Linked DNA regions of Homo sapiens: regions 1 and 2 are each linked to region 3. The links are contacts of gene promoters, found by promoter capture Hi-C in blood cells and fetal thymus (Javierre and others, 2016). All regions are on one chromosome and are shown on one strand. Each heading gives the region's core, a stretch centred on a gene start or on the middle of the fragment in contact. The rest is flanking DNA. Distances are from core to core; before and after follow the strand shown.

Region 1 (3,072 bases), core at 469-2,968, 470 kb before region 3:
TGCCTTGGCCTCTCAAAGTGCCGGGATTACAGTTGTGAGCTACCACACCCAGCCAAGATGTTTTTAATACAGGTATTTCCTTGTATGTCTTTAATTTTGTGCTTTATACTTAAAAGGTGCTCAACAAAGTTTTTTCTTTTTTTCAGTTTATTTATTGAAACTTTACACATACACTGTTTGGCTGTAGAATTCTAAAATCATATTTTCCAAAATGTTTTTTTTTTTTTTTTTTGAGACGGAGTCTCGCTCTGTCGCCCAGGCCGCACCGCGGACTGCAGTGGCGCAATCTCGGCTCACTGCAAGCTCCGCTTCCCGGGTTCACGCCATTCTCCTGCCTCAGCCTCCCGAGTAGCTGGGACTACAGGCGCCCGCCACCGCGCCCGGCTAATTTTTTGTATTTTTAGTAGAGACGGGGTTTCACCTTGTTAGCCAGGATGGTCTCGATCTCCTGACCTCATGATCCACCCGCCTCGGCCTCCCAAAGTGCTGGGATTACAGGCGTGAGCCACCGCGCCCGGCCTCCAAAATGTTTTTAACCCAAATTGCAGAATGATTATAGCAAAGGAATACATAAGTCATTCAATTTGCTTCTCAATGTGTTAAACACAGAGAATTATTTGCTCATTTGGTAAACATTACCTCATCCGCTTCTTCACCTTCTTCATCATAAACATCATCATCAACTTCAATAGCTTCTCCAGTAAAGTATGACACTGCTCTTGGGATTATACGCTCACGTAAAAAGTGACCTATTTTGAAGTCTGTGCAAGGATTTCAGCATCATCATCCAGATCTCCACTCTCAGGAACTTCAGGAGGGGCAAACAAATTAAAGAGTCATTGGAAACTGTGTTAGTCACAGTATGAACTGTCCCACTTCCCTTGTGTTTCTGCTTCTTCTTAATGGTTTTCAAAGTGACATTCTTTCCTTTTTTCCAATCTATCTGGCACCCTGTGCAACCCATAATTTCTGGTCCATCAAAAGAAAAGGGATCAGAATCATCTGGTTCTGACCTCATCCTGTATGTCTTTGACAGCATTTCATTTGTAAAATATTCATTGGGTTCAAAGTGAAATTCTAAGACAAAATTCATAGGCTGGTCAGCATCTGAGAGCTTCACTTTAGTATCTTTCAAGTGTTTCAGAATAGGTTCATCATGTTGTTGAACCATATCACTGAACAAGTCAACATTCTTAGAAACAGTTAACCAAAATTCAGGAATTTCTTTGGGGTCTTCTTTTTCTTCATCCTTTTTCTCATCTTCGATCTTGGCCTTTTCTTTCAACTCCTCTGAAATCTCATCTTCTTTATCTGGTTACCATTCACATTGTTCTTCTGTGGGTTCATAAATTTCATTAATAATCTCAAATCGCTTATCAAATAGAGGCTGATAGAGAACAGCATATTCCTTTCAAGATCGTGAACTTCCTCATAGAATTTGGTTTCTATCTGTGCACATTTAATTTAACTTGCAGGTTTTTGAGAGCATTCACTCGTCTTTTAACTACCCTAGGCAGGCTTTCAGTGTATCCTGTTGGTGTTTCTACCAGAACATCAAGTCTTTCTTGAAGGACTGCAAGAATCTGAGGACTTTGCATTATCTGAACAGTTAGCTGATGTGCTTTGATTTTTGTTTCTTCACCAGTTTCTTCTTCATGTACTTCTTCAACATCATCCAAATCTCGATCAAGTTCAGATTGTCAGTGTCTGCCATGTTATAAGAACTCCAAATATCGGCAGCTAGTATGGGAAGCCAGGAGGCCTGAGCTGCGCAGGCAGTGACTCAGGGCGGCAGTGGCGGCAGGAGGAGCAGGAGGCGGCACTGCGAGCAAATGGTGCTAAAAAAGAACAGATCAGTTTAACTGATCAATTTATTTGAAGTGATATTAATAAAAATACTTCCCATTATTGTAGGGAGACATTAATGTGTAATAATTAAGAGTCCAGCCTCTAGACACAGATTACCTGAGTTTTAATATGAGCTCTGACACTGACTAGCCGTGTGACTATGGTCAAGGCACTTCATGTCTCAGTTTTCTCATTTGTAATTTGGGACTAATGCTTAAAATAATACTTGGTGCACAGAAGGAACTATATAAGCATTAACTATTATTATTATAAATAGCTTTTATTTATGTTAAAAACACTTTTATCCAGTGTTTGCTACTTGCCAATCACTGTATTAAGTGCTTTGTGTGTATCATCTCAATTAATCCTCCTAGCAAACCACTGAAGTAGGTCCTATTAACAACTCTATATGAGGTATTATTACTCTTTACAAATGATGAAGTCATTTACAACTTTACAAATGATGAAATCAAGACTCCAAGAGTTTAAGTTATTTGACCAAGATCAAATAAGGTACAGTCAGAATGTGATACAAGTTTATGGACTCTAGTTACTCTATTATGTTATTCTTGGAGAACCATTTTTGTTTTTGTTTTTGAGATGGCGTCTTGCTCTGTCGCCCAGGCTGGAGTGCAGTGATGGGATCTCGGCTCACTGCAAGCTCCGCCTCCTGGGTTCATGCCATTCTCCTGCCTCAGCCTCCCGAGTAGCTGGGACTGTAGGCACCCACCATCACGCCTGGCTGATTGTTTGTATTTTTAGTACAGACGGGGTTTCACCATGTCAGCCAGGATGGTCTTGATCTCCTGACCTCATGATCTGCCCGCCTCGGCCTCTCAAAGTGCTGGGATTACAGGTGTGAGCCACCGCGCCCGGCCTTGGAGAACCAATTTTAACATGTATTGAGTATTATAAAAGCACCCACTTCAGGCCTGGAATGTATTAAATGTCACTTAGTATCTAACAACCTTCCCACCTCATCCCTGAGGACTTGAGTACTTGGCTCATGGTATTTCATTTATCAGCCTCTCAGTTCCTTCAATATGTCCCCTGACGGCATAAATCATCCACATCGTCCACCAGCACCGGTAAACATACTAGATCTAATCATTACTTGGAACTGTTCTACTTCTGAAATGGTAAACTCTGGTTATTACCAAAGACTTCTTGGTTCTTTCTTACTCAATCCTGTAACAACAGCTCTTTAATGTCATACATATCTCC
Region 2 (3,409 bases), core at 821-3,320, 290 kb before region 3:
ACTCATCTTTCCTCTCTGGATTCACCTTGCGATTCCCCTGTTTCTATCTGTGGTATTAATCACTCCCAACACTTAAGCATTTTTTACTCTTTCTCATCCCCATTTTTCTAACAAACATTACATTATTCAGCTTTATTTCTCTCCTTTCCATTTCCTTTTTGCTACTAATTACTAGTTCAGTCCTAATTATTTCATTCTTGGATTCTTTCAGTAACACATTTAATAATATGGGAGGACATGACTATCAAAAGATACGATTACAGCAAATTTAGCTTCAAGTTCAAATTGGCTTTTATTTGTGATTCCAGAATCAACACCTCATTTTATAAAATAGAATGAGTGTTCAGATGAAGTGAGCAGAGGAGTTTGGCTTCATAGGCAGAAAAGGGTAGAAGAAAGCAGAAATGGAACAAAAAGTAGATTGGTCGGTTCAAAATTTCTTTCCTTATAGTGTTAAAACAGGGAACATCCTCATCATGCTAGCTTAGGTAATCCGTACTCCTGATTGGCTGCTATGAATCTTCTGTTTTTGGAAAACTGGCCTGTTTCAGAGGTCAGTTTGATTATGTGGCACCTAATGTGAACGACTTCATTCTGGTTGGTTTGATCTCTTGGAACCTCGTGCAGGAAGCTAGTCCAAACAGTGGCCTCCCATACTTTGTTTACATGGCATAGTTCAGAATATAAGCTCATATTATGGTGTCATATTATCTAGGTACAAATTCTGCCTTCTCTACTCCCTAGTTTGTGATAAGGACAAGTTACTTAGCATCTCTTTGACTCAATTTTCTCACTTATAAAATGGGGATAATACACTTGAGCATGGGAGGTAGAGGCTGTAGTGAGCTATGATCACACCACTGCACTCTAGCCTGGACAACATCTCACCCAGGCTAGAAATCTCACCTTTGAAATCTCTTAAATGATAAGAGTGGCTTTTGAATGCTAGTGAGATGACTGGTTGCAGGATGGGGGCTGGTCACCAGAAAGACCGAGGCATGATGAGTGTTGGGACTTTCAGCCCCATCTCCCAGCCACCAGGGAGGGGAGAGAGGCTGCAGACTGAGTTGATCACCAATGACCAGTGTAATCAATCATGCCTATGTAATAAAGTTTCCATAAAAAGTTAAAAGGATAGCTTGTGGGGAGCTTCTGAATAGCTGAACATATAGAGGTTCCTTGAGGGTGGCATGCTCAGAGAGGGCATGGAAGCTTCATACCCCCCTCACATGCCTTGCCCTATGTACCTCTTCCAGCTGGCTGTTCATCTGTATCCTTTGTAATATCCTCCGTAATTAGTGAGTTGATGTAAGTAAAATGTTTGCCTGAGTTCTGTAAGCTGCTCTAGCAAGTTAACTGAATCTAAGGAGGGGGTTGTAGGGGCTCCCAATTTATTGCTGGTCAGTCAGAAGTATGGGTGACAGTCTACTACTTGTGACTGGCATCTGAAGCGGGGGGAATTCTTGCGGGCCTGAGCCCTCAACCTGTGGGATTTGACCCTATTTCCAAGTATATAGAATCATAATTGAACTAGAAGACACCCAGCTGATGTCCACTGCAGAGCTGATTGCTTGGTGTGTGGGGAAATAACTCCCACACATGTGGTGTGGGAAGTGTTGTGTTGAGTGGTATGTGAGAGTGGAGGGGAAAAAATGTTCACTAATTCAATTTCCTTTGTAGGGTTGTGATGAGAATTAAATTAAAAAGTGCATGTTAGCACAGTGTCTACCAAGTAATAATAACTAAATACATTATAGATATTGTATAGTATTGTTATTCTTTATTCTTACTCTTATTAGATGAATAGCTCCCTGCCTTCCCTTATATCTCTCTTGGCTCAATCCATCCTACGTCATTGCCAGATGAATCTTCCTAAAACTTTAATCAAGTTATTCTGCTTAAGCACTTGCAGTGACTTCTCTTTGCCAGAGTAAATTCAGTTTGCCTGGGTTCCTGCACAATCTGGAGCCATCGTGCCTTTTCAGTCTTATTTCCCCTCTACTCAAGTCCTCTACTCTAGCTAGTTTTGTTTCTTCGCTGTCCTGAAAGCCACTTGGTTTATTTAACTCTGTGCCCTATACTGCCTTCTTTATCTAGATTGACCTCTCCTCTCTTTCCAAATCCTGTGGAGCTCTTGAATTCTCAGCTCCAACTCACCTCTTCTACCAAGCCCTGCCTAACTACCCTTAAGCCATCGGAATCTGACCATCTTTGAAATTTTTGTAGCACTTGCTTTTATTTGTCATTTAACATCTACAACATTTAGATCGAGACTGTTACTATTCTGTTTAGTCTTATCTTTTCTTCTTGAGATGCTCATTCCTTTCCAATCTTACTTTCTGATATTTCATAATGTGAACCCTTCACCAGTATGTTTACTAAACACTCAAATGTCAGCTCTGATGATGATGGACAATCAAAAATGTCCCCAGACATCACCAAATGTCCACCGTGAGGTCAACATATCCAGGATTGAGAATCAGCATCTAGTATTCACAACATCTAGCATTGCTACATGATGATGATGATGATGAAGAGATGATGTACATTTCCACTGATAGTCATACACGGCCTTCTCTGTTTATGTCTTTCCAGCAATCACAAAGGCAGTGTGTTATACAGGAAACAGCAACAAAGGATCAGGAATCAGGAGACTAAAGTTCTGGTCTCAGTAATTTGCTCTCATAATTTGGATAAGTTAGTCAGTCTGTGTTTCAGCTACTTCACCTACAAAATCAATAGTTAAATGAGATATTGTTAATTGCTTCCATTCTAAAATTCTTTTCTTCTTAAATCTATTTTTTAAAGGCCAACTCATTTTTCTCAATTATTCTTACTTACATATTAAGCATTTTTACTCACAATTTGCCTTACTGTTATTACTTTTCCAAGTATATGTGTCTTATTCTCTCAAGAATATTAAGCTTTTTGGGGCACCATATGTCTTACATTTGTTGTTATTCATAACATCTAGTATTGCCACATGTACAATGAAAATCAAGTTTGGTTGAATTAATTTTGCTTTATTTTCATTTTTGGTAATTTTAGCCTTGGGATCCCTCAGAAGAAGAACATTTAGTTACTACCTTTCACTTAGTAATTTATTTCACTTAGTTCCTGTCCTGAAATTACTAATAATAAATGAGATTCCTCATTTGGGAGGGACAGATGTTGTAAATGTTGATGCAGAGTGAAAGATATTAATGTTGTAAATCAGGGTTTCTCAACCTCAGCACTATTGACGTTTTTGTCTTGATACTTCTTTTTTTATTTTTAATTTAATTTAATTTAATTTATTTTATTTTATTTTTGAGATGGAGTCTCACTCTGTCGCCCAGGCTGGAGTGCAGTGGTGCAATCTTGGCTCACTGAAAGCTCCGCCTCCCGGGTTCACGCCATTCTCCTGCCT
Region 3 (3,251 bases), core at 230-2,729:
AAAATATACAACAAATTGTGTATTTTTGTTGTTAATTATACTCCTAATAATAGTTATCCTATAGAACACTAGAATTTATTCCTATCTAGTTGTACTTGTGTATCCCTTAACAAACGTTTGTCTATCCTCCTCCATGAATCTTTTTTCCCACTATTATTGGAATAAAGGAGAAAAACAAAACAACAACAACACTGGACTAGGTGGAAGGCATATAGAATGCTAGCCCCAACACTGAGAAGTCAAGCATGTTCTCCATAATTAACTGTCCCAGAAGAGCAGTTTAGAAATGTGTTTAAGTATAGTCCCAAAGGGAAAGCTTACTTTGCAACTAAAAATAAAGGCCTAACTACTCCAGGAGGTCAACAATCCAGCCATATCTCTCAGGGTTTGCAGCTGTTTTCTGGAATGCCTGAAATAGGAACAAACTTAACACCACTGCGTTGATACGAGCCACACACCAAAATGAGACTGCTAGGATCTCTACTTGAAAACTTGAGTAAACGAGCTAGTCATTGAGGGCAGGGCCGTAAGGGAGATTTCATCTCGTGCTCTTTGGTCACTTTCGCACACCGCCAAGCAAATAAGAGCAAAGACACCTTTCTTAAAACACTTACCAACCTGCTCTCCTCAACTGTGCCCTGCAAGCTGTGGCATCTCCTGCCACCCTGCCTCTAGTTTCCCAGACTGCAATTTCCCCAGCCCCGTTTTCCTACACACGTTTCCACACCCTCTCACGATCTTTTACTCTCTTCTCCCTTCCGGTCGTTCCAGCGGGTCCCACCTCCCTCTTCTTCCCACCCTCAAAGAACTGACCACCTCTGATACCCCTCAGCGCGGGACACTCATCACCCCAGCATCCTACGCGCCTTCCCCTCCATAACTAGTCCCAGGACCCAGTCTTTCCCACGCTCTGTTCTCAAGACCCACCTTACCCTCCCTCCCTAGACCTTCGCATCCTTCCATCCAGGAAGCCCCCACACCACGCCCCACGCCCCCTCCTCTGCAAGGCCCTAAGCTCTGCTCTCCACCCCCATTTAGAGTTTTGCCTCCTGCACTTCGTTCAGCCCCATCAACGCCATGGACTGCACCTGCCGCTGATTTTCAAGTTACGTTCTACGGCCTTCTCACCTGGCCGGCTTTCCTAAACGATCCGCGGGGCTCCCTCAGCCATCCGTTCAGCGGCGCACCCAACCCTGGCAGGAGCCGGGTCCGCCTCCCGGACCGCTCCCCCGTTGGCTGGCTCCAGGCCAATAGGACGCTTCTGGAGAGCGATAGGGTCTCGGAACTGTCTGTCAAATCCGGAGGCGTAAACCGGGCCGCGATTCAAGTTTTTAATTGGTCATTACAGCTATCACTTAGCAGTCTAGAGGCAGGTCTGTATGCTCCCGCCGAGCTGTCATAGGCCGGCGCGTAGGAGTCAAGAGCGCGGAAAGAACGTGCCCCAAGCAGTTTGGTTGAGGGCCGAGGAGTGACGTGTCGGTTTGCGGACCCACGGGGAGTCGCAGTGGGAAGGCGCGGCCCACTGACTCCCGTCATGTGACAAGAAGCGGAAACTACGCTGAAATAGGCCCTTGCTCCAAGTCCCAGTAACTCGGAATGCGGAGCCGCTCGTCTCCCGTCTTTTTTAAGGTAGAAATTGTTACCTAATACAAGGTGAAAGGAGAGGAGGGAAGCATTTTCTACCTATTTATTCTCAATTAAAACTCAAACGCGGACTGGTCCAGACAGTTCGTCTTTTGCAGGATGTGCCTGATAGTTGACTCGAGCTTTTACTGTGCCTTGGTAACTGCGATGGACCTGGGAACCTTGACAGAGTTCACAGCCCCTGGTTTTGTGAAAGAGCGTGCCTAGGCCTAAAGGGGTTGTCGGGGCTAAGCTGGAAGCATTTCTACTGCCAGCTGAGACAGCCACCGCCGCGGAGGCACAGCCCTCCCCAGCAGCAAGCGGGCTTCCTCGGGAGACCGGGAGGCAGCCCGGCCATGCTTAGTCAGTTCAGCCCTTTGTTAAAATACCGGCCAGAGAGCCGCTCTCCCTATCCTAACTTGCCTCTCTTCTCTCGCACCCCACGCGCTCCCCGACCCCCAATAAGTTTGCTGAGGGCAGAGAAGGGGACGAAGTTTGAGCAGCAATTCCATCATCTCAGACTCGCACGTGTACACCTTTATCCTCAGGCACTTCCACTCCCTGCGCGCCTCGGTGAGCCAAGGCTACACCAGAGAGAGTGGGAACGTCTCGCAGCTCTTCGAACTTGTTGCCTCTACCACTCACGCAGTTTCCTATTCTCCCATGAACGGAACCCACCACTTATTGAAAGGTCATTATTTAAATCACTGCTTCAGAATCACATGCATTTTTTTCAAAATCCACATGACCAGGCTCGCCCCAGGACGTTATGATTCAATAGATCTGCTTTTTTTTGGTTTTGTTTTTAGTAGTAAGTGTTCGATGTAATTTTACTTTAACAAAAGGAAACTGAAGCTGAGCCTGAAGGAATTACAGAACTTGGAGTAAATGCTTCTTCAAAATACGAGTTTTGGTCGGGCGCGGTGGCTCACCCCTGTAATCCCAGCACTTTGGGAGGCCAAGGCGGGCGGATCACGAGGTCAGGAGGTAGAGACCATCCTGGCCAACATGGTGAAACCCGTCTCTACTAAAAATAGAAAAATTAGCTGGGCGTGGTGGCGCGTGCCTGTAATCCCAGCTACTCGGGAGGCTGACACAGAATCACTTGAACCAGGGAGTCGGAGGTTGCAGTGAGCCGAGATCGTGCCACTGCACTCCAGCCTGGCGACAGAGCTGGACTCCGTCTCAAAAAGAAGTTTTTTCTCTTTAAAAATAAAAAAGCGGGGAGGGGGGCATTAAAATTAGAAAGATTGTGTTCAAGTTTCTTTTGTTTTTTTTTAAGTATTAACCTAAGAATATTAAGGCCGGTCGCGGTGGCTCACGCCTGTAATCCCAGCACTTTGGGAGGCCGAGGCGGGTGAATCACCTGAGGTCAGGAGTTTGAGAACAGCCTCACCAACATGGTGAAACCCCATCTCTACTAAAAATACAAAAATTAGCTGGGCTTGGTGTCAGGATCCTGTAATCCCAGCTACTTGGGAGGCTGAGGCAGGAGAATCGCTTAAACCCAGGAGTTGGAGGTTGCAGTGAGCCAAGATCGCGCCATTGCACTTCAGTCTGGGCAGCAAGAGCGAAACTCCGTCTCAAAAAAAGAAAAAGAATATTAAGATGTTAGAGTTTTTATTAAT

Evidence for each region. The method cuts DNA at HindIII sites, captures the fragments that hold promoters and counts their contacts. A CHiCAGO score of 5 or more calls a contact.
Region 1: a contact is called between a fragment that was not itself captured here and the fragment with the promoter of STT3A-AS1 in region 3, in 1 of 17 cell types (naive CD8 T cells). The highest score is 5.5, in naive CD8 T cells.
Region 2: a contact is called between a fragment that was not itself captured here and the fragment with the promoter of STT3A-AS1 in region 3, in 11 of 17 cell types (naive B cells, non-activated CD4 T cells, endothelial precursors and 8 more). The highest score is 10.8, in naive B cells.

What each region holds. Positions count from the first base shown.
Region 1 is chr11:126,066,168-126,069,239 of GRCh38, reverse strand. It overlaps the pseudogene NAP1L1P1. Among named protein-coding and RNA genes, the nearest start is that of CDON, 4.8 kb to the right of the region's middle. The HindIII fragment of the contact is 5,217 bases long and covers 1-3,072 here.
Region 2 is chr11:125,877,373-125,880,781 of GRCh38, reverse strand. It overlaps LINC03136 (long intergenic non-protein coding RNA 3136), which reads left to right. Exons shown (of 2, transcript XR_007062935.1): 1 at 1-3,409. Among named protein-coding and RNA genes, the nearest start is that of LINC03136, 3.8 kb to the left of the region's middle. The HindIII fragment of the contact is 1,712 bases long and covers 1,215-2,926 here.
Region 3 is chr11:125,590,796-125,594,046 of GRCh38, reverse strand. STT3A-AS1 (STT3A antisense RNA 1) reads left to right here and starts at 1,479. Exons shown (of 4, transcript NR_132372.1): 1 at 1,479-1,629. STT3A (STT3 oligosaccharyltransferase complex catalytic subunit A) reads right to left here and starts at 1,195. Exons shown (of 18, transcript NM_152713.5): 1 at 1,129-1,195. RefSeq lists enhancers at 1,329-1,923, 2,041-2,210. The HindIII fragment of the contact is 3,144 bases long and covers 319-3,251 here.